Regions from separate parts of the Homo sapiens genome. Here region 2 is linked to region 1. Evidence: promoter capture Hi-C in 16 types of primary human blood cells and fetal thymus (Javierre and others, 2016). All regions are on one chromosome and are shown on one strand. The core of a region is centred on a gene start or on the middle of the fragment in contact, and the rest is flanking DNA. Distances in the headings are between cores, read along the strand shown. Region 1 holds the start of TAS2R3 (taste 2 receptor member 3). Region 2 has its middle 110 kb from the start of PRSS58.

Region 1 (4,149 bases), core at 678-3,177:
CCAATAGGAGGTTGCATGCTATGCCATGCAAGGCCACTCAGGGATGCACTGGAGTTGGTCAGGAGGAAGAAGGAGGGGGGAAAACATAAGCCAGAGGCTTTGTTGTGTTTTTCATAGGGAAGCAATGAGTAAGGCACCAGTGGAAAGCTAAGCAAGGTTAGGATTGGGTAGTTTGAATAATTTCAGCAGGCTGCAGGTTCTCAAGATGGTCCCTAGTTATCAGGTGCCTGGCCCTGGGGTGATTGAAGGCAAGGTCATAGTGTCCTGGGCTCGTTTTCTACCTAAGCAAAGGAGGTAGATGGGAGGGGCAGTGTGGATTCAGGATTGGCTGGTTTGCTTATCAAAGGAGTTTTCTCAGGCAAGTTGGCTAACTCCAGGAATTAGCTAACCTTGGGAGGGCATGCCCTCTCTGGGTCTGCAAGGCCCAAAAGTGTCAAAGCATAAAATACAGAAAATAAACATGATTAATGCACTACCCAGTATCTATTGTCCCTTCTGTATTTATAGAACCCAGATGTGACAGGGTGCACAGCACATGTACTGCATTCCTGTTCTTTTCAGTTAGGGGTTGCCAAGGGGCTATAGGCAGAAGTCACTTGGTGATGCTCTCAGGGAACTTTCTATATGAGTTACTCTTGGGAGGCGTATCCTGTGTGCTTCCCCAGACTCTCGTCCTACAGCATTTTCTTTTTTGTCTGAAATGTGGACATTTCATGGCTGGATTTCCAGTTGCCATCTTGGACCATGAGGCAGTCTTCAGAATGGAAGGTAGAAGAAGCTGGGATCTGCAATCACTATGCAACCACCATACCAGCCTGGACAGTTTGCCTCTGGACTGCTTTGGGAGACAAAAATATACCTCTCCTCTAAGCCATTTACTTGTGTTGTGTACTTAAACCTAATTCTTTCTTATTCATATATTGTTGACTTTATCTCCGTATACATGAGCAACTCTTTACTCTTATCTTTCTCTTACATGACCTTTCACGGCAAGTAGAAGTAAAATCTTTTCTTTATTCCCACAATCCTTTAGGTTTTAAACTAATGTCTCATTAAATTTAGGGAAGGGAGTAGGACATAAAAAGTATACAAACCTTAGCAATTAGCTTTAAAAAGAGTCAACATAAGCATACTTTAATACAAACTACGTACTGCTTAATTCTGCATATAGTCCTGAATGAAGATCCTTAATTAATAGCCGCTTGTTAAATAGAGGAGCTCTTAGGTTAAGAACAGAAGTATTGTTCTTATGCCTCCCTGGACAGTATTATAGCAGACTAGCAATCCAGAGTGGGTCTGAGACTTCCCACTGCAAGTCCAAGTTCGGGATGTAAGCTTGGCCACTTTCTGGTGAGGCTTCTCTTGCTAGCTTATAGCTTACAGCCATCTCTCTGCATGTAAGCCAGGCTCCAAGGGGCATGCCTTTTAATTCTAATCCATGATCAATGGCACTGAACTTTTACAATTTTATGCACTTAAACCTCACTCCAGGTGGATAGTGGCTCCTAGTGGAATTCCTTTTCTGTATCTCTGAGTCCTCCCTCCTGAGGAATGAGACTTTTTACTCTTCTGAGTAATTCTGAGCCGCCTCCATTTGGTGCCGCTCATCTTTCTGTTTTGGGTAACTCAGAGCCCTACACCCTTTGAAACTGAGTCCAAGTCCTCCATCATCTTTGTGACCTAGATCTCTTCCTTCTCTATGTGACACTGGACACTACTCATTTGCATTTTAGCAAAGAGCTGCAAAGTTTAGGTTCATTGATGGAATATGACAATCCATATCATCTGTGAAGAGGACAGACTAACCTGAAAGAGCCAGAGAGGATTTCCTAAATTGTGCTCTACGACAGACTAAATTGGGCAGAGACAAGAGACAGGTACAGTGAAGCAACAGGTAGAGGAGTAGATTAACGAGAAAAATATCACATCAGTGAGGAGATTCTATGTATCAACAGAAAGAACAAAGATCAGGGCTGCCTAATTGCTGACATGATGGGACTCACCGAGGGGGTGTTCCTGATTCTGTCTGGCACTCAGTTCACACTGGGAATTCTGGTCAATTGTTTCATTGAGTTGGTCAATGGTAGCAGCTGGTTCAAGACCAAGAGAATGTCTTTGTCTGACTTCATCATCACCACCCTGGCACTCTTGAGGATCATTCTGCTGTGTATTATCTTGACTGATAGTTTTTTAATAGAATTCTCTCCCAACACACATGATTCAGGGATAATAATGCAAATTATTGATGTTTCCTGGACATTTACAAACCATCTGAGCATTTGGCTTGCCACCTGTCTTGGTGTCCTCTACTGCCTGAAAATCGCCAGTTTCTCTCACCCCACATTCCTCTGGCTCAAGTGGAGAGTTTCTAGGGTGATGGTATGGATGCTGTTGGGTGCACTGCTCTTATCCTGTGGTAGTACCGCATCTCTGATCAATGAGTTTAAGCTCTATTCTGTCTTTAGGGGAATTGAGGCCACCAGGAATGTGACTGAACACTTCAGAAAGAAGAGGAGTGAGTATTATCTGATCCATGTTCTTGGGACTCTGTGGTACCTGCCTCCCTTAATTGTGTCCCTGGCCTCCTACTCTTTGCTCATCTTCTCCCTGGGGAGGCACACACGGCAGATGCTGCAAAATGGGACAAGCTCCAGAGATCCAACCACTGAGGCCCACAAGAGGGCCATCAGAATCATCCTTTCCTTCTTCTTTCTCTTCTTACTTTACTTTCTTGCTTTCTTAATTGCATCATTTGGTAATTTCCTACCAAAAACCAAGATGGCTAAGATGATTGGCGAAGTAATGACAATGTTTTATCCTGCTGGCCACTCATTTATTCTCATTCTGGGGAACAGTAAGCTGAAGCAGACATTTGTAGTGATGCTCCGGTGTGAGTCTGGTCATCTGAAGCCTGGATCCAAGGGACCCATTTTCTCTTAGAGTAACAGAGGGCATGGGGTGGAGCCCTTGAGCCTTTTGGCCTGGCTCAAGACTACAGGACTCTTCCTGACCTTCCTATGTTACCAGTTCCATAACATCAGTAGGAGAGAAACACTGACTGCTTTGCCCCTGGTCCCTGGGCACTTGTTCCAAGGTGAAAGCCACGCTTCTCACAGCCTCTCTCTGTATGGTGGTTGCGGAGGTGGGGAGGGTGCAGGAGTAGTAGTCTTGGAAATGACCATGTCGTAAGAACACTCTCACTATAAACATATGGTGCTGTATTTTAATAATCATCAGCTCGACATAATGAGTCTGATTACTAGTTTCAACTTAAATTAGATACTAACAGTGATAAACATAAAATTACATAGTAGACTTGAAGGAAAGAGCAAAAGCTTTGCAGTCCTATAGATGTGGGTTTGAATTCTGATTCTGGCCAAGATTTTTGGCCTCTGGTGAGTTACTTTAATTACCTGTCTGATTCCCTCTTCTGATCCCTACTGGCCATTTTAGCACAGTGTGTTGTGTACAGTACTCAGTAAGTGAAGGCTATTATTGCGCTAATATTGGATTGTGCAGCAACAGCAATTTCCATATGATTCCAGTTCCCACAAACACATTGTGTAATGATGAAAACAGTGGAAAGAAAATCAAGACCTTTAGATTCTAGATTCCAATTCAATCTTGCATTTCATGATCATTTTGCTAAAGTACATTTTCAAGTAATTATTTTGTAGATTGGGCAAAAGACCAAGTAGTTTTGTTTTTATTTTTGACCAAGATGCCTACCTGGTTTTAAAATTACAGTTTTATCAAATGTAATATAAGTGAATTTTGTAAGTTTAATCACTTTTATTTAAATAGAAGTATATAGGCATTGATTTACTTCCTGTTATTTACAATTTTGACATGTCAATGAAAAGATATTGCTTAATATCCTGAAGAATTCTCAAATTTGTAAACATATTCAGTTAATACACATGGCATTATTCAGAAATGTGTATTTCTAGCCCTAATGGGACTCTCAGAAGTGGACTGTTGTGGCTAAGAATGTAGACCCTGAAATTAGACAATCTGTGTTTAAATCTGGCTTTGGCCCTTTTGAACTGGGTGACCTTGGGGAAACTTCTTAACCAGTCTCTATTTAACTTTCTTCACCTGTAAAATAGAAATAGTAATTTGTGTGTGTGTGTGTGTGTGTGTGTGTGT
Region 2 (4,020 bases), core at 922-3,421, 600 kb after region 1:
CGCTCTTTTTTTTTTTTTTTTTTTTTTTTTTTGAGATGGAGTCTCGCTCTGTCGCCCAGGCTGGAGTGCAGTGGCGCGATCTTGGCTCACTGCAAGCTCCGCCTCCTGGGTTCACGCCATTCTCCGGCTTCAGCCTCCCGAGTAGCTGGGACTACAAGTGCCCGCCACCACGCCCAGCTAATTTTTTGTATTTTAGTAGAGACGGGGTTTCACCGTGTTAGCCCGGATGGTCTTGATCTCCTGACCTGGTGATCCGCCCGCCTTGGCCTCCCACAGTGCTGGGATTACAGGCGTGAGCCACGGCGCCTGGCAGCTCTTTTAATAATAAACGACTTTTATGTGCTGTGTTTAGCCTGTTTACATTCAAGGTTAATATTAATACGTGTAGATATGATCCTGCCATTGTGTTCTTGCTTGGTTGTTATGCAGACTTGATTGTGTAGTTGCTTTATAATGTCAATGGTCTATGTACTTGAGTGTGTTTTTTGGTGGCTGTTAGTGATCTTTCATTTCTATGTTTAGGACTCCCTTCAGGACCTCTTGTAAGGCAGGTCTGGTAGTAACAAATTCCTTGAACATTTGCTTGTCTGAAGGGATCTTATTTCTCCTTTCCTTATGAAGCTTAGTTTGGCTGGATATGAAATATATAGGGATACTGGTTGGAATTTCATGTCTTTAAGAATGTTGAATATTGGCTCCCAATTGTTTCTGCCTTGTAAAGTTTCTCCTGAAAAACCTGCTGTTAGTCTGATGGGATTCCCTTTGTAGGTGACCTGCCTTTTCTTTCTAGCTGACTTTAATATTTTTTCTTTCATGTTGACCTTGGAGAATCTGATGACTATGTGTCTTGGGGGTGGTTGTCTTTTATGGTATCTCATAAGAATTCTCCGTGTTTCCTGAATTTGAATATTAAACTCTCTAGCAAGGTTAGGGAATTTTTTGTGCTCAATATCCTCCAATATGTTTTCAATGTTGCTTACTCTCTCTCCCCCTCTTTCAGGGACATCAATGAGTCATAGGTTTGGTCTTTTTACATAATCCCATATTTCTCAGAGGTTTACTTCATTCATTTTTCTTTTTTTTCCATTCTTTTTTTGTCTGACTGAATTGATTCAAAAATAAGTGTTCAAGCTCTGAGATTATTTTCTCATTGATTATGCTGTTAATACTTCTGATTACATTATGACATTGTTGAGGTTAGTTTTTCAGCTCTATCAGATCAATTTTGTTCTTTCATAAAATAGCTATTTCATTTTTCAGCTAATGTGTCATTTTATTGGATTCATCAGATTCCTTAGATTGACTTTCAGCTTTCTTCCGAATCTTGATAGTGTTTGTTTCTAACCTGTTTCTGAATTCTATGTCTATCATTTCAGCCGCTTCAGCCTGGTTAAGAATCATTGTTGGGAAGCTAGTGTGTTCATTTGGTGCTAAGAAGGCACTCTGACTTTTTAAGTTGCCAGAGTTCTTTCACTGGTTCTTTCTCATCTCTGTGGTCTGAGGTTTCTTTAATCTTTTAAGCTGATGTCTTTTGGAAGGGTTTTTTGCTTTTATATTCTATGCCCTTGAGGGTTTCACTGTTACATAAGCTGGGTTCAGGAGACTGGCTTCATTTATGGAATATTTCAGGGGGCTAAGATTCAGCTCAGTATTTCTGGGCTGCGTGTTGTAGGCCTGTGGTGCTGGAATTAAGCCCAGAGCTTTGGTTTTTGACCCCTTAAGGTTAAAGCACCTGCTACACCAGAGGGGCTGAGGCGTTCCCAATTCCACTGGCAACAACACTGCAATGGGGAATGCCAGCCAAAGTACTTTTTCCAAATGGTGGCATTGGGGTACATGCTCAGAAGCATGTGCCAATAATGGCAATGTGGCAGTTTCCATACATATGTTTGTGCTAGCTTTTTTATTATTATATAGTAAACTTCTTTGCCTCTTTTTATAGTTATTGTCTTGAAATATATTTTATCTGATATAGATATAGCTACTCCTGATCTTTTCTGGTTTTCACGTGCATGAAACATCTTTTTGTTATCTCTTCACTTTCAATCTATATGTCTTTTTAGGGGAGGTGTGTTTCTTGTAAGTGACAGATCATTGGGTCTTATTTTTATATTCATTCAGCTACTCTATGTCCTTTGATTGGTGAGTTTACATCATTTACATTCAATGTTATTGTTGATAACTAAGTACTGGCTCCTGCCATGTATTTGTTTTCTGGTTGTTTTGTGGTCTTCTCTTCATTTGTTTCTTCTTTCCTGTCTTCTTTTTAGTAAAGGTGATTTTCCCTGATAACGTGTTTTCATTTCTTGTTTGTTATTTTTGTGTATCTGTTGTATGTGTTTGTATTTAAAGTTACTACGTTGCATATGTTTGTATTTAAAATTACTATGCATGAGGCTTGCAAATAATATCTTATACTGATGACAACATAACACTGATTGCCTAAGCAAACAAACCAAAAAAAAACAGAGAAAACTAGTAAAAATCTTATATTTTAACATTGTCCACCTACCTTTCAACTTTGTGTCATTTCTATTTATATCTTAGGCACTGTCTATGTCTTGAAAAGCTGTAGTTTTTTTTTTAATTGGTTCATCTTTTAGTCTTTATAAGTAGTTTACACGCCGTAATCACAGTATTATAATATTGTGTTTTTCTTCGCACTATTATCAGTTAGTTTTGCACCTGCAGATAATTTCTTATTTCTCATTAATGTTCTTTTCTTTCATGCTGAAAAATTATCTTTTGCATTTCTTCTAGGACAGGTCTGGTGTTGAGGAAGTCCCTCATATTTTGTTTGTCTGGGGAAGTCATTATTTCCCTTTCATGTTTGAAGGGTATTTTCACTGAGTACACTATTCTAGTATTAACGTTTTTTTTTTTAGCATTTTAAATATGTCATGCTGCTCTCTCATGACCTGTAAGATTTGCACTGAAAAAGTCTGCTGCTAGACTATATTGGTGGTCCATGGTATGTTATCTGTTTCTTTTGCTGCTTTTAGAATCCTTTCTTTATCCTTGAAATTTTGATTTATCCTTGAAGTTTGATTATTGTCTTGATGTAGTCTTCTTTGACTTAAATATGCTTGGTATTCTATAATCTTCTTTTACTTGAATATTGATATCTTTCTCTAAGTTTGGGAATTTCTCTATTATCATAGCTTTGAATAAACTTTCAGCCCTATCTCTCTCTCTACCTCCTCTTTAAGGTCAATAACTCTTAAAGTTGCCCTTTTGAGGCTATATTCTAGATCTTGTATTTGTGCTTCATTAATTTTTATCCTTTTGTCTCCTCTGGTGGTGTATTTTCAAATAGCCTGTCTTCAAGCTTACTGATTCTTCTGCCTCATCAATTGTGAGGTTGAAACCCTGATGCATTCGTCAGAATGTCAATTGCATTTTCAGCTCCAAAATTTCTGCTTGATTGTTTTTAATTATTTAGCTCTCTTCCGGATTCTGAATTTCTTGGCTGTGTTGTCTTGAATTTTGTTGAGTTTCTTCAAAACAGATATTTTGAGTTCTGTGTCTGAAATGTCACACATCTCTCTCTCTCTCTCTGGGATTGGCCTCTGGTGCTTTATTTGGTTCATTTGGTGAGGTCATGTTTTCCTGAATGGTCTTGAGACTTGTGGATGTTTGCCTGTGTCTGGGCATTGAAGAGTTAAGTATTTATTGTAGTCTTTGCAGTCTGGGCTTGTTTGTACTCGCCCTTGGAAAGCTTTTCAGGTATTTGAATGTACTTGGGTGTTGTAATCTAAGTTTTCTATCTCTGAAACCTTATCTGCATTAGGGAGCACCCCAAGTCCAGTAATTCTGTGGTCCTTGTGGACTCACAGATATACTGCCTTGGTGGTCTTGGATAAGATCTGAAAGAATTCTCTGGATTATCAGGCAGAGACTCTTGTTCTCTTCCTTCACTTTCACTCAAACAAACATCTCTGTCTCTCTCTCTGCTGAACTACCTGGAACTGAGGAGTAGTGGTACAAGCTCCCTGTGGCTGCCATCACTGAGATCCTAGG

The links. Contacts are between HindIII fragments. The CHiCAGO score rates a contact against its expected background, and 5 or more counts as called.
Region 2: a contact is called between a fragment that was not itself captured here and the fragment with the promoter of TAS2R3 in region 1, in 1 of 17 cell types (neutrophils). The highest score is 5.2, in neutrophils.

The regions. Positions count from the first base shown.
Region 1 is chr7:141,762,170-141,766,318 of GRCh38, forward strand. TAS2R3 (taste 2 receptor member 3) reads left to right here and starts at 1,928. Exons shown (of 1, transcript NM_016943.2): 1 at 1,928-3,028. The coding sequence starts at 1,990. The coding sequence ends at 2,940. The HindIII fragment of the contact is 2,000 bases long and covers 1,334-3,333 here.
Region 2 is chr7:142,361,066-142,365,085 of GRCh38, forward strand. It overlaps TRB. Among named protein-coding and RNA genes, the nearest start is that of PRSS58, 110 kb to the left of the region's middle. The HindIII fragment of the contact is 3,097 bases long and covers 624-3,720 here.